7 separate regions of the Homo sapiens genome follow, and all the other regions are linked to region 7. Evidence: promoter capture Hi-C in 16 types of primary human blood cells and fetal thymus (Javierre and others, 2016). All regions are on one chromosome and are shown on one strand. The core of a region is centred on a gene start or on the middle of the fragment in contact, and the rest is flanking DNA. Distances in the headings are between cores, read along the strand shown.

What was found. The method cuts DNA at HindIII sites, captures the fragments that hold promoters and counts their contacts. A CHiCAGO score of 5 or more calls a contact.
Region 1: a fragment that was not itself captured here is called in contact with the fragment with the promoter of UBE2Q1-AS1 in region 7 in 4 of 17 cell types (M2 macrophages, M1 macrophages, M0 macrophages and 1 more); the score reaches 9.2 in M2 macrophages.
Region 2: a fragment that was not itself captured here is called in contact with the fragment with the promoter of UBE2Q1-AS1 in region 7 in 4 of 17 cell types (M1 macrophages, M2 macrophages, M0 macrophages and 1 more); the score reaches 7.8 in M1 macrophages.
Region 3: a fragment that was not itself captured here is called in contact with the fragment with the promoter of UBE2Q1-AS1 in region 7 in 17 of 17 cell types (M1 macrophages, M2 macrophages, M0 macrophages and 14 more); the score reaches 13.8 in M1 macrophages.
Region 4: a contact is called between a fragment that was not itself captured here and the fragment with the promoter of UBE2Q1-AS1 in region 7, in 1 of 17 cell types (M2 macrophages). The highest score is 7.5, in M2 macrophages.
Region 5: a fragment that was not itself captured here is called in contact with the fragment with the promoter of UBE2Q1-AS1 in region 7 in 1 of 17 cell types (M1 macrophages); the score reaches 7.0 in M1 macrophages.
Region 6: a fragment that was not itself captured here is called in contact with the fragment with the promoter of UBE2Q1-AS1 in region 7 in 4 of 17 cell types (M0 macrophages, megakaryocytes, erythroblasts and 1 more); the score reaches 7.8 in M0 macrophages.

What each region holds. Positions count from the first base shown.
Region 1 is chr1:154,229,510-154,232,315 of GRCh38, reverse strand. The region is part of intron 4 of UBAP2L (ubiquitin associated protein 2 like); the gene reads right to left. Among named protein-coding and RNA genes, the nearest start is that of UBAP2L, 10 kb to the right of the region's middle. The HindIII fragment of the contact is 3,253 bases long and covers 1-2,806 here.
Region 2 is chr1:154,257,940-154,260,639 of GRCh38, reverse strand. It overlaps UBAP2L (ubiquitin associated protein 2 like), which reads right to left. Exons shown (of 27, transcript NM_014847.4): 21 at 1,610-1,663; 22 at 611-692. SNORA58B (small nucleolar RNA, H/ACA box 58B) reads right to left here and starts at 913; the gene lies at 778-913. The HindIII fragment of the contact is 872 bases long and covers 993-1,864 here.
Region 3 is chr1:154,872,548-154,875,247 of GRCh38, reverse strand. No RefSeq gene overlaps it. Among named protein-coding and RNA genes, the nearest start is that of KCNN3, 3.6 kb to the right of the region's middle. The HindIII fragment of the contact is 1,066 bases long and covers 773-1,838 here.
Region 4 is chr1:154,280,646-154,283,345 of GRCh38, reverse strand. No RefSeq gene overlaps it. Among named protein-coding and RNA genes, the nearest start is that of HAX1, 9.4 kb to the right of the region's middle. The HindIII fragment of the contact is 7,430 bases long and covers 1-2,700 here.
Region 5 is chr1:154,851,859-154,854,558 of GRCh38, reverse strand. The region is part of intron 1 of KCNN3 (potassium calcium-activated channel subfamily N member 3); the gene reads left to right. Among named protein-coding and RNA genes, the nearest start is that of KCNN3, 17 kb to the left of the region's middle. The HindIII fragment of the contact is 3,549 bases long and covers 1-2,700 here.
Region 6 is chr1:154,890,083-154,892,782 of GRCh38, reverse strand. No RefSeq gene overlaps it. Among named protein-coding and RNA genes, the nearest start is that of KCNN3, 21 kb to the right of the region's middle. The HindIII fragment of the contact is 520 bases long and covers 1,148-1,667 here.
Region 7 is chr1:154,552,196-154,554,895 of GRCh38, reverse strand. It overlaps UBE2Q1-AS1 (UBE2Q1 antisense RNA 1), which reads right to left and starts at 1,287. Exons shown (of 2, transcript NR_046668.1): 1 at 1,224-1,287; 2 at 1-246. UBE2Q1 (ubiquitin conjugating enzyme E2 Q1) reads left to right here. Exons shown (of 13, transcript NM_017582.7): 4 at 111-161; 5 at 1,724-1,864; 6 at 2,076-2,160; 7 at 2,432-2,492. The HindIII fragment of the contact is 6,880 bases long and covers 1-2,700 here.

The DNA.
Region 1 (2,806 bases), core at 202-2,701, 320 kb after region 7:
AGTCTCACTTTGTCACCATGCTGGAGTGCAGTGGTGCGATCTCGGCTCACTGCAACCTCCGCCTCCCAGGTTGAAGTGATTCTCCTGCCTCAGCCTCCCAAGCAACTGGGACTACAGGGCACCACCAGGCCCAGCTAATTTTTGCATTTTTAGTAGAGATGGGGTTTCACCATGTTGGCCAGGATGGTCTTGATCACTTGACCTCGTGATCCGCCCGCCATGGCCTCCCAAAGTGCTGGGATTACAGGTGTGAGCCACTGTGCACAGCCTCAGATCTTTATTATCTTACCATCAAACTCAATCATGGCCCTAGTGCTCAGTAACAGCTACCTAATGTCTAATCACTTTCAGAATATGGGCTGAGTATTAGATAATACAAAATTATTAACCTTATCAGGATTGATAATAGTATTATGGTAATGTAAGAGTATCCTCCTTTAAGGGAAGCATGTTGAAGAACTTAAGGGTATCAAGTATTATGTCTACAACTTCCAGATAATTCCAAGTGTCCACTGATGAGTAAACAAAATGCCACATATATGTACAACGGAATATTAGCCTTAAAAAGGAATGAAATTCTGACCCATGCCACAATATGGACGAACCTTGAAACATTACACTAAGTGAAGTAAGTTAGACATACAAGGTCAAATATTACATGATTTCACTTACATGAGATCTCTAAAACAGGCAAATTCATAGAAATAGAAAACAGGGCCGGGGATGGTGGCTCACACCTATAATCCCAGCACTTTCCGAGGCCAAGGAGGGTGGATCACTTGAGGCCAGGAGTTAGAGACCATCCTAGGCAACATGGCAAAACCCTGTCTCTACTAAACATACCAAAATCAGCCAGGTGTGGTGGCACACACCTGTGGCCCTAGCTGCTTGGGAGGCTGAGGTGGGAAAAACGCTTGAGCCCAGGAGGCAGAGGCTGCAGTGAGCCGAGATCTCACCATTGCACTCCAGCCTGGGCAACAGAGCAAGACTCCATCTCAAAAAAAAGAAAAAAGAAAAAAAAAAAAAAGCCAAGTGTGGTGGCGCACACCTGTTGTCCCAGCTACTAAAGAGGCTGAGGTGGGAGGATTGCTTGAACCCAGGTGTCCATGGCTGCAGTGATCATGCTACTGCACTCCAGCCTGGGTGACAGGGCAAGACCCCATCTCTTAATTCATTTGTTTTAAAAAGATTACCTACCCAAGACTTGGTAGTTTGTTGCTGCCTACTCTTCCAACCCAAGCCTATTATACATTACAGTTAGTGGGTCATTTTATGCTCACAGTAAGTTAGAACAACCCTGTAGCTAAATATACACCAGGAACACTCTGGAAGCTAGACTCAAAACAGCTTTTAGAATTTATGCTGCTATCTCAAAACCTGGCAAGTTTCAGGAAACTGTAACCTTTCTCCCTCCTCTGTATGCACATCTGTTGCTGGCACAAGATGGGTCAGGAGAAAGAATTACTATTATCTTCCCAAAGGCGACTTCAGTTTTCTGAAATGATCTCACCCACCCAAATACATCCAATATCCCTGGGAGCTGACTTTGCTTCCCATTGGTTTCACTAGTAGCTAGTTTATTCGTAACATAAACCTATATTCTCCAGCTTATTTTCCTTTTTGATACTGTATAACATCAGCCTTATAGCACTAGACAGAAGATGCTGGAAGGTAAGATAAAATGTGATTTGCGAAAAAACATTCAGACTTTTAAAAAAACATAAATAGCCCCACCTGATTCCCCCCATAAAATCTGGAGACAATTATTCTAGAGTAAACCCAAAACAAATCAAAAGCATATCTTGATTGGCCAGATAGTAAATATTCAAATAAGGTCAACAGTGTAAAATTTAATCCAGGATAACACTTTTGAAGAAAAAACCCACCAATTTAAATTCAATTGTTTTTAAAAGTTTTCCATTATTATTTCCCATTGTCTCAAAGAAATTGACAAACCTCCTGCATTTAGCTGGAGTGACTCTGTAGTATCAGAAAGCTGTTGTATCTGAGGCCAGGTTTCATGGCTCACGCCTGTAATCCTAACATTTTGGAAGGCCGAGGCAGGAGGATTGCCTGAGCTCAGGAGTTCAAGACCACCCTGGGCAACATAGTGAAACACTGTCTCCACTAAAATACAAAAAATTAGCCAGGCATGGTGGTGCATGCCTGTAGTCCCAGCTACTCGGGAAGCTGAGGCATGAGAATTGCTTGAACCCAGGAGGCAGAGTTTGCAGTGAGCCGAGATGTACTCCGGCCTGGGAGACAGAGAGAGACACCGTCTCAAAAAAAAAAAATTAGCTGGGTATGGTGGTGAATGCCTGTAATCCCAGCTACTCTGGAGGCTGAGGCACAGGATCACTTGAACCTGGGAGGTGGAGGCTGCAGAGAGCAGGTTCACGCCACTGCACTCCAGCCTGGGCAACAAGAGCAAGACTCTGACTCAAGAAAAAAAACAAGTTGTTATCTGTAAGGATGAATTTTGATATCTATTCCAACCAAAGAGCCCCAGTATAAGACCCAATAAATGAAAATGATTTCAAAATAATACACTGGGCCAGGTGCGGTGGCTCATGCCCATAATCCCAGCACTTTGGGAGGACGAGGCGGGCAGCTAGCTTGAGTCCAGGAGTTTGAAATCAGCCTGAGCAACATGGAGAAACCCTGGCTCTACTAAAAATGGGAAAATCAGCTGGACATGGTGGCCCATGCCTGTGGTCCCAGCTACTCAGGAGGCTGAAGTAGGAGGATCACCTAAGCCCAGGACGAGGAGGTTGCAGCATGTCAGTGTACTCCAGCCAGGGCCACA
Region 2 (2,700 bases), core at 179-2,678, 290 kb after region 7:
ACAATTTCTCTGCCCACTTGTGTTCTCTTTCATCTTCCCTCTTCTTCCCTCCCCTCTTCTCCTCCATGGGGAATACCCCATGCTGGACTTGAAGGACAACGATGGATCAGGGAAAACGGTAAGTCAATGAGGACAATGATAGGTCAGGTAAAAGAAGGAGTGGCAAGGCAGTGAGATTGCCACTGTGAGTAGTAGCATAAAGGGGCAGAGATGAGCAGAGAAGACCACCTCAACCACTGTATTTCCTGGAAAAAGCTAGCAAATGGCTTGAAACTAAGTCAAGATATCACTTTTTTTGGAGATGGGGTCTTGCTATGTTGCCCAGGCTGGTCTTGAACTCCTGGGCTCAAGCAATTCTCCCACCTTGGCCTCCCAAGTAGCTGAGACTACAAGTGTGTGCTACCATGCCTGGCTAAGATATCATCTAGAAATCACAGGGAGACAACACAAAGTGGGATGAATAGGAAAAGCCATGACATGCCCAACTTTAGCAGGATTTTGAATCTACCAATCCTGATTTATCACATCCCTTCTTGCTACCAATCAGGTGTCTGCCATCAATCCCAACACTATCTCCCTTTTTATTTATTTAGTCCCATCCCAATCCTACCAGAATAAGGGTTGCTGGCCAGGCTACCATCCCTCCCAGTCAGCGGAGTAGTGGGTGTGGGAAATGGGATGCTGTAGTAATCCTAGAAAAGAGGGGAAAAAAGAGCAGAGATTCAATGTCACTCATTCCCCAGCATGAGTACTATTTCCACGGAGGAAAAAACAGAAGAATGTGAGAGTTGTGCAATTTATCCAGTCACTAATTAAGCTGGCTAGAGTTAGCACAAACTCCACATTACTCTTGCATACACTGTCCCCCCTGCCTGGCCATGAGCACAGTCAGACAAGGTCTACGGGTATGCCCACTTGAGAATACATCAAAGTCCACGAGGACCAATATTTTCAACCCTCTAGGTGTCATCCCTATCAGTTTATACCAAGCTTATTCTACTGAGAAAACAGATCATTCGATAATTTAAAGTGTCTGGGACAAACAGAAAGCACCCTGAGTGCTCCAGAGTACTTTACTGGGCTATAGAATAGGTTAAAATGTATTTACTAAGATGCCACAACTCTGATTTAAAAAAAGAAAAAAAAAAGGCTGGGTGCGGCGGCTCATGCCTATAAGCTCAGCACTTAGGGAGGCAGAGGCGGGTGGATCATAAGGTCAGGAGTTCAAGACCAGCTTGGCCAAGATGGTGAAACCCCGCCTCTACTAAAAATACAAAAAAAATTAGCTGGGGGTGGTGGTGGGCACCTTTAATCCCAGCTACTCGGAAGGCTGAGGCAGACAATTGCTTTAACCCAGGCGGCGGAGGTTGCAATGAGCCAAGATCACACCACTGCACTCCAGCTTGAGCGACAGAGAAAGACTCTGTCTCAAAAAAAAAAGTTATCTTCTGTTGGAAACCCTCCCCCAAATCCCTATATTCTAATATGCCTTAAATCAGAGTGTATGGAGGGCTGGGATGGGAAAGAGCTATGTCTGTGACGGAGATAATTCTCCCAACACTAATTTTAAGACTACTTTCTTTTCCAAAGCTCTATCCCACATACTCACCAATGGAAATCTTGTCTGAAGCATCTGCAAGTCATCATAACCATATACTTGTGGCTGAAAGATACAGACATATAGCAATAACAGGAACTGGTCATGATGTTAGCAAAACAAGGAGCCAAGAGACAAGCTAATTCAACAGAACATTCATCCTCATTCTGGGTTAGAACAGGACACGGATTATTTCCTTCAATTTTATTTAAGGAAAAAGCAGTAAAGTACACAGAGATTAAATGATTCATGAAAGGTCTTGAAGCTTTCCTTGAGCTAAATACTACTGATTCTAGTAGGCTGGCTTCTTGATACCAATAGAGTAGACACAAAACATACACGAACAACCAGTTTTACTCTCTATTCTACAAGTCTCTGTCTCTTATACTCTTCAAAATCTGGCTTAAAAATAATCTCCTCTGGAAAGAATACTTCACTTTTCTCCAATGTCAGGGTTTTAAGGTAGTGACCACAAATTAAAAATGTGTAACTGTGTTATTTGGATGTGTCATCGGTATGAAATTTATCTAGACTTTGTCTATGAGGGCAGGAACAGGTATCTTCTAAAACGTTTCCATATATCCTTCATCTTAATAGGTACCAAATACTTGAAGGTCACAGAAGATACACTAGGGCAAAAAGCTACTAATGTCAGCCACTTATTCTCAAAGTCCCAGATTGAGTCAGGAAACTTTCCTCTAACCAGGCCAGACCAGCAAACACACTCAGAGTTAGGGATTTAATCAAATCAGAGAAAATAATTCTTGGGGCCAGGAGTAGTGGCTCAGGCCTATATATAACCCCAGTTATTTGAGAGGCTGAGGCAGGAGGACTGTCTGAACCTGGGATTTTGAGACCAGCCTAGGCAACATAGGAAGACCCTGTCTCTAAAAAAATTTTTAAAACTTAGCCAGGCATGGGGATGCACACCTGTAGTCCTAGCTACTTGGGGAGTCTGAGGTGAGAGGATTGCTTGAGCCCAGGAGTTCAAGGCTGCAGTGAGCTAGCTATGATCGTTCCACTGTACTCCAACCTGGGTAAAAGAGCAAGATCTGCCTCAAAAAATAAAATAATAGTCATAATTATCTAAGAAACCAAAAAGG
Region 3 (2,700 bases), core at 56-2,555, 320 kb before region 7:
TTCAAGCAATTCTCCTGCCTCAGCCTCCTGAGTAGCTGGGATTACAGGCGCTCGCCACCACGCCCAGCTAATTTTTGTATGTTTTTTTTTAGTAGAGACGGGGTTTCACCATGTTGGCCAGGCTGGTCTTGAACTCTTGACCTTGTGATCGGCCTCCCAAAGTGCTGGGATTACAGGCGTGAGCCACCAGGTCCGACCAATAAATCTTTAATGAGTAATTCATAGCCAGGCACCGTGATCAGTGTTGGGGATACTGAAAAAATTTAGAGCCCTTTTATGCAGGTCACAGCCTGTGGGAAAGACAGCCATATAAACCATGAACCACTACTTTTCTTAAACCTATTTTCAGTTAGTTCTACCTTTTGGGGATAACAAGGTCTACAGACAATAGATTATGGAATTTTAAAGCTGAGTGATCTTAGAAATCATCTTTTTTATCTCACTATTTTACGGATGAGGAAATTGTGTTTATGATTTGTTGTGAAAAGTACTGTGACTTTCCCTTACTTGCCTTCAAATGACCTCATCCAGGTTTCAAGTTTAGTCAGTTCGATTAATCTTTACTAAGCATCTATTGTAAGCGGCTCTTCGGAAGAGCTGCAGTACAGCTGTGAAGAAGACATCATCCCTGCCCTCAAGGAGGTCATGGTCTATGGGCAAAGGACACATATGGAGATAACAGCTGTGTTGCTCCGTAGAGGCCCTGTTAGCACAGGGCACTGAAAATACAGAAGGAGCTCCTGATTTGGGTTTGGGGAGTTCAGGGGAAGCTTCTCAGAAAGAAGACCTTTGAGCCATGTCTTGAAAGGCAAAGAGAAATGTGTTAGATGGAAATCTGGGGGAAGGGCATGCCAGGCAGAGGGCATGGAGATGTGAAATAGCATGACTTACGGGAGAGCTACAATAGGTCGGTGATGCTGGGGCTTAAGGAGGAAGGTGGTGAGGAATGAGCCTGGAAAGGAGGGCAGAAACCGAGTGCCAGTACACTTGATGTGGAGCCAGTATGGCCAAAGGCCACCCCTACTTTCCTTGTCTGCTCTTCCTGTCTCTCTGAGGTAAGAAGCTCCTCCACACCCCCGTTTGCAGACTAAAGAGGCCTAATTTGTCAGCCTGTCATCTTAGGGCAGCATAAGGAGTTGCTCCCCATTCCTTAAGGTGTGGCTTAAGTCCCACCACCTCCAGGAAGCCACCCTTGACAACCCTCTGCCTTCAATGAACTCTACTGTCTCGCCCACACTTTGGGATCTGCATTGCTGTTTTTTGTCACCCCATGTAAGTATAACTTGTCTCTACAGTGAGACTTTAAGTTCCTGAGGGTTGGGTGTGTGAGTCACATGGTAATGTTTAATAAACACCAGTAAGAATGAATCCTTTAAATTTGGGTTTCAGGACATATGGCGAGGGTTTGTCAAAAGGTTGGACAGGCCTGGGTTTGATTCCAGCTTTATGGCTAGTTACTAATTAGTAACTCTGGGCAAGTTTTAAAATCTTTTTAATGCCTCAGTTTTTTCATCTATAAAATGGGTGATGGCCTCAACTCACAGGCTGCTGTGAAGACATGGTTGTGGCTGGGGGCCAAGGGAAGCATTGGGGGCTTTTCAACAGTGGGGCTTTGGACAGGCAGCAACAGCGGGAAGACGCCTGAGTGCGGTGCATCTGGAGGGCAACGTGGAAAACCTGACATGATCAGGCCCTGTGGTTGAGAGCTCCCAGCTGATTCACTAACCTGTCGGTGCTTGACAGTTACAAAGTACTTGGCCGGTGCTCTCATTGGACTAAGGAAATTGAAGGCCTGAGAACATAAGCAACTGGTCACAAAGTGGGCGAGTGGCAAAGCTTGTGCTGGTGAGAAGGAAGGCAGAGGGTGGAGCGCACAGCCTGTATGTAATGATATAGGAGGCAGTAATATGCTGATAAATGTTGAACAGCCAGGAAAGATTTAGCAAGCGGCTTCCAGGAAAACATAAGCTCTAATTTACAGTGTTAGCCGATTTCTGTGGTGTAAATACTCTGATCATGGCTGATTTCAAGCTGCTAATGTGACATCACTGTGGAGTTAGGAAGAGATGTGTATGGATGATCAGAAGGTCATCTTGCCTGTGGTCACACAGCCATCCCTGCAGCAGAGAACGGTTCCAGCCTGGGCAGTCTGACACTTGAGCCCAAGCTCTAAACATGACATTGTCCTCCTCCTCCTGTTCATGACAGGATAGCTGTAACAAGGGGCATGAGCTGGCTCCGTGGCATCAGCTGTCAAGTTCCAGCCCATTTCCAGATAACCACTGATCTTTGGTGCTGGCATAGTTAGGGCTCTACCCAAGCTATCTTTCATCCTTATCCATGATGGCAGGACGTGCTCTGATAGGCCCCATTTGGATCCCATTGGCACAGCCAGAAGAACTGGAGGCAAGAGGCTGGCCAGAAAGGTTAGCTGAGGCAGAAGGCAGCTCATGGGGGTAGAGTGAGCATAGGAATACCCAGGCCTGGAGCCTGTTCTCCAAAATTGATTTTTCACAGCCCAGAAAACTGTATCCAACACTAAAAAACCAACACGAACAGCACATTTTTGCTACTAACAACATATTCATGATAATTTATTAGAGGATCATTAAACCTAAGTATGCGATCTGGAGCCTTGAACCAAGCAGGTGGCTCTGTCTGCGGATGGAGGAGAGGGAGGGAAATCAAGAATACAGAAGG
Region 4 (2,700 bases), core at 175-2,674, 270 kb after region 7:
GGGTTTCACCTTGTTGGCCAGGCTGGTTTCAAACTCCTGACCTCAGGTGATCCTCCTGCCTTGGCCTCCCAAAGTGTTGGAATTACAGGCATGAGCCACTGTGCCCAGCCAACTACATTGTTATTAACTGTAGTCACCATGATGTACAATAGATCTCTTGAACTTATTCCTCCTGTCCAACTGAAATTTGGTATCCATTGACCAATGTCTCCCCAGCATTCACCACCCCCTAGTCTCTGGTAGCCACCATTCTACTCTCTACCTGCATGAGGTTTTTTTAAGATTCCATATATAAGTGGGATCATGTGGTATTTGTCTTTCTGTGCCTGGCTTACTTCACTTAACATAATGTGCTCTAGGTTCATCGATGTTGTAAATGACAGGATCTCATTCTTTGTTTTCTATTTTTTCTGTAAAGAATGTCTTTATTTTAGAGATGACGTCTCGCTATGTTGCCCAGGCTGACCTTGAACTCCCTGGCTCAAGCAATCTTCCTGCCTCAGCCTCCTGAGTAGCTGAGACAACATGAGCATGCTACCGAGCCAGGCTTCATTCCTTTGTAAGGCTGAATAGTACTGCATTGTGTATATATGCCACATTTTCTTTATCCATTAACCCACTGCAGGAGACTTGGGTTGATTCCTACTCTCAGCTATTGTGAACAGTACTGCAGTGAACATGGCAGTGCAGGTATCTCTTCAACATACTGATTTCAGTTGCCTTGAATATATACCTAGTAGCTGGATTGCTGGATCTCCATTGTCTTATACTTTGTGTTGCTGATAAAGTTTGAGAATATTATGATTCTTGATCCTTTAGGTTATTTTGTTATCCACTGACACAGCCCTCAGGAGATCCTGAGAACATGTGCCCCATTTTTCTTTCTCTCTCCCTCTAGAATCTTTTAAACTCTGTTGTCTCCAGTGTTCTAAAATTTCATATGGCATGCCTTAGAGTGGGTTTATTTTCACCCTTGGTGTCTGGCATGTGGCAAGTCCTTTCAGGTTAGAAAGTAATATCCTTCAGGCCGGGCACAGTGGCTCTTTCCTGTAATTCCAGCACTTTGAGAGGTCGAGGTGGGAGGATAACTTCAGCCCAGGAGTTGGAGACCAGCCAGGGCAACATGGCAAGACCACCGTCTCTACCAAAAACAAAACAAAACAAAACAAAACAAAAAACAAAAAACAAAAATTAGTCGGGTGTGGTGGTGCACACCTATAGTCCCAGCCACTCAGGCTGAGGCAGGAGGATTGCTTGAGCCCAGGAATTCGAGGCTGCAATGAGCTATGATTGTGCCACTGCACTCCAATCTGGGTGACAGAGTGAGATTCTGTCTCAAAAAAAATTAAGTAATATTCTTCAATTCTGGAATATTTTCATGACTTATTTCATTGATAATTTATGCCGTTCTAGTTTTATGTTTTTCTTTCTTTTCTTTTCTTTTTTCTTTTTTTTTTTTTTTGAGATGGAGTCTCACTCTCTCTCCCAGGCTGGAGTGCAGTGGCGTGATCTCGGTTCACTGCAAACTCCACCTCCTGGGTTCACGCCATTCTCCTGCTTCAGCCTCCCAAGTAGCTGGGACTACAGGCACTCGCCCCCACGCCCAGCTAATTTTTTGTATATTTAGTAGAGATGGGGTTTCGCCGTGTTATACAGGATGGTCTCGATCTCCTGATCTCATGATCCGCCCGCCGCGGCCTCCCAAAGTGCTGGGATTATAGGCGTGAGTCACTGCGTCCAGCCTTTTTTCTCTTATTTTTTGATCAGTTATTTTGTTTACTTTGTGGAGAGTTCAACTTTGGAGAGTTGAACTCTATCACATTTGTGGGTTTTATTTCTGTTTTTAGAGACAGAGTCTCACTCTGTCACCCAGGCTGGAGTGCAGTGGCACAATCATAGCTCATTGCAGTTTTGAACTCCTGGACTCAAGCGATCCTCCTACCTCAGCCTTCCCAGTAGCAGGGACTACAGTGTGCACCACCCTGCCTGGCTAATCTTTAATTTTTTGTAGAGACGGGTCTCACTATGTTGCCCAGACTGTCTCCAACTCCTGGGCTAAAGCCATTCTCTCCCTTCAGCCTTCCAAACTGTTGGGATTACAGGCATGAGCCACTGCACCCGGCCAAGTACATACATCTTTATAGTGCTTAGAAATATGAATCAATAGGCTAGGTGCAGTGGCTCATGCCTGTAATCCCAGCACTTTGGGAGGCCAAGGTGGGTGGATTACTTGAGGTCAGGAGTTCAAGACCAGCCTGGCCAACATGGTGAAAGCCTGTCTCCATTAAAAACTCAGAAATGTAGGCTGGGCGCAGTAGCACATGCCTGTTATTCCAACATTTTGGGAGGCCGAGGCGGGCATCTGAGGTCAGGAATTCAAGAGCCTGGCCAACATGGTGAAACCCCGTCTCTACTAAAAATACAAAAATTAGCCAGGCGTGGTGGTATGCACCTGTAATCCCAGCTACTTGAGAAGCTGAGGCAGGAGAATGACTTGAACTCGGGAGGCGAAGGTTGCAGTGAGCCAAGATCGTGCCATTACACTCCAGCTTGGGCAACAGAGTGAGACTGTCTCAAAAAAAAAAAAAAACAAATTGCCGGGTGTGGTGGCTTGAGCCTGTAGTCCCAGCTACTCGGGAGGCTCAGGCAGGAGAATCGCCTGAGCCTCCACTTACAGGTGGAGGTTGCAGTGAGATGAGA
Region 5 (2,700 bases), core at 170-2,669, 300 kb before region 7:
TAGTAAACTATCTAAGTTAATTATATATTATGTTCGATGGTGATAAGTGCTATGATGAGTGTTATGAAGAGCCTCTTCCCTCCAAGATACAACTTCTTACTCCATTGACAAGTCTTAGATCCCAATCTGTTAAGGCCCCAACTAATTTTACAGCCAGAGTTAGATAACAGGAAAAAGACATCTCTTTTCCTTTCATCATTGTCATCATCAATAACAATCACAATTGTTAGGACCACTCTGGATGGGAGTGCAGGGGCTTCTGAGAGGAGAGTGGTCATATTATTTTATTTATTTTCAAATTAATTTATTATTATTATTATTTTTGAGATGGAGTCTTGCTCTGTCGCCCAGGCTGGAGTTCAGTGGCCCAATCTCGGCTCACTGCAAGCTCCGCCTCCCGGGTTCACGCTATCCTCCTGCCTCAGCCTCCCGAGTAGCTGGGACCACAGGTGCCTGCCACAACACCTGGCTAATTTTTTGTATTTTTAGTAGAGACGGGGTTTCACCATATTAGCCAGGATGGTCTTGATCTCCTGACCTCATGATCTGCCTGCCTTGGCCTCCCGAGATGCTGGGATTATAGGCATAAGCCACCGCGCCCAGCTTTTTTTTTGTGAGACGGAGTCTCACTCTGTCACCCAGACTGGAGTGCAGTGGCGTGATCTCGGCTCACTGCAACTTCCGCCTCCCAGATTCAAGTGATTCTCCTGCCTCAGCCTCCTGAGTAGCTGGGATTGCAGGCACATACCACCATGCCCAGTTAATTTTTGTATTTTTAGTAGATACTGGGTTTCATCATGTTGGTCAGGCTGGTCTTGAACCCCTGACCTCAAGTGATCTGCCTGCCTTGCCCTCCCAAAGTGCTGGGATTACAGGCATGAGCCACCATGCCCGGCTGAGAGTGGTCATTTTAAATAAATGCTCAGAGCTAGGTGCAGTGGCTAATGCCTGTAATTCTAGCACTTTGAGAGGCCGAGGCAGGAGGATCGCTTGAGCTCAGGAGTTTGAGACCAGCCTAGGCCATATAGTGAGACGCCTTCTAAACAAAACAAAAAATTAGCTGGGCATGGTGGTGCGTGCCTGTGGTCCCAGCTACTTGGGAGTCTGAGGTGGGAGGATCGCTTGAGCCCAGGAGGTCAAAGCTGTAGTGAGCTGTGATCGTGCCACTGCACTCCAGCCTGGGGAATAGAGTGAGACCTGGTCTCAAACAAAAACAAAAACAAAAACAGAAAACAAAAACCACAAATAAAACAAATAAAGAAGTGCTTAGGGCCAGGCATGGTAGCTCACGCCTATTATCCTGGCACTTTGGGAGGCCAAGGCAAGAGGCTTGCTTGAAGCCAGGAGTTTGAGACCAGCCAGGACAGCATGGCAAGACTCTCATCTTTACAGAAAAAAAAAAAAAGCTGAGTACATTGGTGTGCACCTGTAGTCCTAGCTACTTGGGTGGCTGGGGTGGGAAGATCCCGTAAGCCCAGGAATTCGAGGATGCAGTGAGCTGTGATTACGCCACTGTGCTCCAGCCTGGGTGACATGTGAAACCCTGTCTCTAAAAATAAACACATAAATAAATAAATTAAATAAGTGCTCAGGGAAGGCCTTACCAAAAAGGTGATGTCTATTGGAGGATCTGAAGTGGTGAGGGATCCAGCCACCTGGGGGAAGAGGAATAGCAAGGTGAAGGCCCTGAGGGGGGATCATGCCTGGTGTGTTGTAGACAGCACTGTCCGGTGGACACGAAATGGGAGCTACCGCTGTCATTTTAAATTCCTGAGTAGCCATATTAAAAATAGTGAAAAGAGAAAAGTAGAATTATACATGTTAATAATATTTTTAATTTAACCCAACATAGCCAGAATATTATTATTTGAATGTGCAAGCAATACAAAAAATTATTGAGATCTTTTACACTTTATTTTTTGTACTAAGTCTTTGAAATCTGGTGTGTCTCTGACACAGCATATCTCAATCAGACATTAAGTTTTCATTGGAGATACTTGATCTGTATTTAGAGTTTATAAAATTTACAATTAAAAGAACAGACTTGCTGGGCATGGTGGCTGACACCTGTAATCCCAGCACTTTGGGAGGCAGAGGCAGGTGGATTGCTTAAGGCCAGGAGTTCGAGTCCAGCCTGGGTAATGTAACACAGTGAGACTCTATCTCTCTAAAAAAAAAAAAAAAAAAAATTAGCTGGGTGTGTGGCATATGCCTGTGGTTCTAGCTACTTGGGAGGTTGAGGTGGGGGATAGCTTGCTGTTGAGGCTGTGGTGAGCCATGCGTGTGCCTCTGCACTCCAGCCTGGGCAGCAGAGCAAGACCCTGACTCCCCGTCCGAGAAAAAAAAAAGAATAGATTCACACACTCAAGTTGTTGAAAACGTACTTAAAATTTTTCCAATAAAAGAGTGGAGTGTCTTTTTATATTTAATTTTAAATGAAATGGACTTAAAATCCAGTTGCACTGGTCATGTTGCAGGGGCTCAGTGGACACACGTGGCTCGTGTCCTCACACTGGACGGTGCAGGCCTGGGAGCAGAGAGGATGCCTGTGAGGCTGATTCAGTGAGTGGAGGGATCATGTGGGCGGGGTTGTGAGGTCACAGGGGAGGCGGGTCTGGCTCTGCAGGGATTTGTAGACCGTCCTGAGGAGTGTGGCCTTTACCCTGGGTGAGATGGGAGCAAGAGGAGGGCTTGGAGTAG
Region 6 (2,700 bases), core at 158-2,657, 340 kb before region 7:
TCCTTTTAATATTTAAGAATTGGTAGGGATATTACCTCTCTCATTCCTGATTATTGATTAATTTTTGACTTCTTTCTTTTTTCCTGATAAGCCTGGTTAGAGATTTATTGATGTTATTGATCTTTTCAAAGTGCAGCTTTTGGCTTACAGATTTTTTCTTCTGTTTTTCTGTTTTATATCTCATTGATTTCCACTATGATCTTTATTATTTCTTTTCTTTAGTTTACTTAAGATTTAATTGCTCTCTTCCTAATTTCTTACGGTACCAGCTGAAGTCATTTACTTGAGAAGTTTCTTCTTTTCTAATATAGGTATTTGGTGCTATAAGTTCCTCCTAAGTACTGCTTTTGTGGCTTCTCTCAAATATGTTATGTTTTATTTTTCATTCAACTTAGAATACTTCCTGTTTTCCCCTTTGATTTCTTCTCTGAACCATGGGTTATTTGGAAGTGTGTTATTGTGTTCCTAAATGTTTGAGGATTTTGTAAAGCTCTTTTGGTTATTGGTTTCTAATTTAATTCCATTATGTTCAAAGAACATACTTTGTATGGCCTGAAACTTTAAAAATTCTTTGAGACTTGTTTTATGGCCCTGAATATGGCCATTTTGGTAAACATGTTCCATGTGCACATGTAAATAACGTGTATTCTATTGTTGTTAGGTGGAGGGTTTTATAAGCGTCAGTTAGGTCAACTTGGCTGATTGTGTCGCTTAAAGCTTCTATGGCCTTGTTTTTTTGTTTGTCCCCTCTATTCTTTTTTCCTCTCCCCCTCTTTTTCTGCATACTTTTGAATTAATTGAATATTTTAAATAATTCCATTTAATTTATCCTTTTCTTATCCACATAGTTGCCAATGTTGATGATTTTCCTTCCTTTGTGTAGATTTATATATCTGTTATCCTTTTCTTTCTGCTTCAAGGATCTTCTTTAACATTTGTTGTATCTCAGGTGATAAATTATTTTAGCTTTTGCATGGCTGAAAAAGTCTTATCTTACCTTCAGTCTCAAAATATATTTTCAAAGATATAATATACATCTAAGATATATTCAAAAGATATAATTCAAAGTTGGCAGTGTTTTTTTCTTTTAGTATTTAGAGATATTCTTCCATTATTTTCCGGTATGCATTATTTATGACAGGAAGCTTTTTGTCATGCTTATCTTTGTTTCTCTTCATGTAATGTCCCTAGTTGCTTTTAAAATTTTTCTCTTTATCATAGGCTTTGAGCCATCTGATTGTTCTGTGCCTTAGTACAGTTTTATGTTTCTTGTGCTTAGGGTTTATTGAGGTTCTTGGTTCTGTGAGTTTATAGCTTCATAAAATTTTGAATAATTTTGACCATTATTTCTTCAAGTACTTTTTCTGTTCCCCTCTCCCACCCAGCTTCCTTTATTCCCTGGGATTCCAATTACACATATGTTAGGTTATTTGAAGCTCACTGATGCTCTGAGAAAAGTATATTGGATGGGTTTAACAGCAGATAGACATTGTGGAAGAACATACTGGTAAACTTGAAAACATATAAATAGAAATACCCAACATGAAACAGAGAGAAAAAAGACTAAAAAAATGAACCCAGCTGACATTTTCACTGCAACTCCATGAGAGACTATGAGTCAGAATCACCCAGCTATGCTGCACCCTAATTCCTGACCCAAAAAAGCTTTGAGGCAATACATGTTTGTTAATCCCAGCACTTTGGGGGGCCAAGGTGGGCAAATTGCTTGAGCCTAGGAGTTCAAGACCAGCCTGGGCAACATGGTGAAACACCATCTCTACAACAAATACAAACATTAGCCAGGCATGGTGATGCGCACCTGTAGTCCCAGCTATTGGGGGTGGTGGGGGGCTGAGATTGGAGGATTGCTTGAGCCCTGGAGGTCAAGGCTGCAGTGAGCCATGGTGGCACCACTGTACTCTGGCCTGGGTGGCAGAGCGAGAACCTGTCTCTAAATAAATAAATAAATAAATAAATAAATGTTTGTGGTGTAAGCTGCTAAGTTTTGGTGTAGTTTGTTGTGGAGCCATAGATAACTAATCCATCCTCTTTGAATTTTCCTCTAACTTCTCCATGCGTAAGTCTTTCCTCTTTAGCAACTGAGTTATAAGAAGAGAATCATGAATACCCTATTAACTGTACTTTCTTTTAAAACTTTTCATGATTATTTTTTGTTTTTATACTTTTTCTTTTTTAGAGATAGGGTCTCACCATGTTGTCCAGGCTGGTCTTGAACTCCTGGGCTCAGGGAATCTTCCCCTACCTTGGCCTCCCAAAGTGCTGGGATTATAGTCATGAGACACTGCGCCCGGACTGTTTTATCGTATGGCTTCCATTCTTGTAGTCTAGGTTGATTATGATGATTTCGGCAGTACACAATAGAAAACCAATTCAAGTCGGCTTCAACATATGGAGTCACATATTAAGAAGGTTGCATAGGCCGGGCGCGGTGGCTCACGCCTGTAATCCCAGCACTTTGGGAGGTTGAGATGGGCGGATCACAAGGTCAGGAGATCGAGACCATCCTGGCTAACATGGTGAAACCCCATCTCTACTAAAAATACAAAAAATTAGCCGGGCATGGTGGCAGGCCCCTGTAGTCCCAGCTACTCAGGAGGCTGAGGCAGGAGAATGGCGTGAATCCGGGAGGCAGAGCTTGCAGTGAGCCAAGATCGCGCCACTGCACTCCAGCCTGGGGGA
Region 7 (2,700 bases), core at 38-2,537:
ACAGGCAGGCGCACAACTTCCAGACCTGGGGGCTCAGGGGAGTAGGTTGGAGGCTGCATTCTAGCAAGCCACTGGGGCTCTGATCTCCATCTTTCCCTTCCTTGCTGCAGTGCACACAGGAAGACGTGTCTTCAGAAGATGAAGATGAGGAGATGCCTGAGGTAGGCTTGCCCCCTGAGGTGGCATTGGCTGGAAGCTCTTGCAGTCAGCAACATTGGTACCCATATCCAGAACTCCAGTCTAAAACTGGAGAGAGAAAAATATCAAAGGAATAAAGACAGATTTACTGACCTGGAGGAATAGCCAGTGTAGTAGAGGAGACAGGGCACCCATATCCAACCACTGAAGACAGGTGCAGCGCGGTTCAAACCAAATACTGGGTAAGTTAATTTCAAATGGCTTTGGAGTCCAACAAACCTGTGTTTGCATCCTAGCTATCCTAATTGAGGAATTTTATGTAATCTCACTAAGCTACAGTTTTCTTATCTATAAAGTAGGATTATAATACCTACTGCATATGGTTGTCTTGAGATTAAATGAGGTGTTATATATAAAATGCTTCAGATGATACATGATAAATGCTAAACAATCTATCTGATATATTCTCTAAAAACATACAGAATATAAAATCATGGTTAGGAATTTGAGCTTTAGAGCTAGACAGAACTTGACTGAATCTTAGCTCTGCTAAGAGCTGTGACTTTGGGCATGATAATTGACCTCACTAGACTCAGCTTCCGCATCTATAAAATGGATAATGATAGAATAATGAGTGATGGTGGTAAGAATGAAATGAGCTAGTATCTGCGGCACCTAGGACAGAACCTGGCATGTAATAAACACTCAGTAGACATTACCTGCTGGTGTGGTAATTAGGTATGTCCTGCCAGAAATGGGGAGATCACTCTGATTACTTTTATTTCCTAGCATTAGATTAATATCCCAGGTTCTATAACCGTGTAAGGTTCTTGAGACTGGCAAAGGGCTGACGACATGAAATTTACTCCTCCCAGATAGTGGACAGCCCTCTGGGCCACACCCCCAACATCTGGCTGAGGGGCTCAACCCTACATAGGTTCTCCTCCTTCCCTATGCTCAGTGAGCTAGTTGCTTGCTCACTTAGAGCAGGATGAATAAGGGGCTAATTCTGTTCTTGACCTCTTCCATATATCTCTCTGGACATCCTTTCTCATTTCCATCTGGCAGTGCGTGCCTCTGCATACCTGATTCATGCCTTGCATTTGTAGCGAGGAGAGGAGATGTAATGATTCAGGTTTCTCCTTTAGGCTTGGGGCCCTGAGAACTCCCGGGTGCAATAGTCACCTGGTGAAACATGAGCTTTGAGTCACAGGGTCAGGCCCAAGTCATTTCTGCTAGGAATTAGGGAAGAGTTTCTGCTGCCAAGGGAGTTTTAGGAACAGTTGGAGCAGGGTCAGTCCAGGAAACAAGAGGGCTAAGTCCCTGCCTCGATCTCAGCTGCAGCTCTGCTCGTTTCCGAAGTCCTTGCTGTAGCTTGAGAGCTGAAGATTTAGACTGTGGAGGGAATGGGGCTGGAAATTGTTCTAAAAATGGAAAGCACGTTGCGTTTATAAGACTGCTAGATGGACTGCTTCACTTTAACTTTTGGCTCTTCGCCAAATGGGACTGGGAAGGTGATGGTCATTCTCTAACCTGTGTCGGTTTTTTTCCTTTTCTTTTCACTCCCACCCCACACCTCCTCCAGGACACAGAAGACTTAGATCACTATGAAATGAAAGAGGAAGAGCCAGCTGAGGGCAAGAAATCTGAAGATGATGGCATTGGAAAAGAAAACTTGGCCATCCTAGAGAAAATTAAAAAGAACCAGAGGCAAGATTACTTAAATGTACGTGCCTTCTAGAGAGAGGCTGGTGAAGGGGTTGGTGGGAAATGGCTGGGAAGTAGTAGGCCATCGCATCTCAGTATGGAGAGCAGACTCCTTTTTTGTGCCTAATCCTTTCTTAAATCCTGGGCAAGCTGCCAGACTGCCCCTAAGGTCTAACGTGTGTTTATAAACCACACGACCAAGGAATGTTCCTGTCATCCGTCCCTCACAGGGTGCAGTGTCTGGCTCGGTGCAGGCCACTGACCGGCTGATGAAGGAGCTCAGGGATATATACCGATCACAGAGTTTCAAAGGCGGTGAGTTTGCCCCAGAGAGGGGCCTGCACAAGAGTCACCCATAAAGAAGGGTATGGTGGCAAGGGGCCCAAGAGGTTCTGGGGTCCAGGAGTGCTTATGAACTTTTCAGGCCAAGAATGGAGCTCCTCAAGCCAGTGGCTTGGTTGCATGTCCATCTGTGGTGAACCTAGAGCTGTTGATCTTTTTCTCTCAGTCTGGGAAAGGGGTCTGCATTAGAGACCACTCACCACCTGGACCATTCTACTAACACCTGTTTTTTCCCTCCTTCCAGGAAACTATGCAGTCGAACTCGTGAATGACAGTCTGTATGATTGGAATGTCAAACTCCTCAAGTGAGTGGGGACTCTGGGATTGGAGAGGAAGTTGAGGAGGAGTGTGAGTGGGGCTACTGTGGTGGGATCTCCAGGGCAGCCCCATCCAGCATTTTCATTCAGGGTCCCGGAGCGGGTGTGGGCAGTGGTTTCGTGGTCTGCTGCCAGCCAGGGCAGGGGAGCCCTTATGAAGCTCCTGAGGTGGAACCAGGCATCTGAGCCCAGGCTT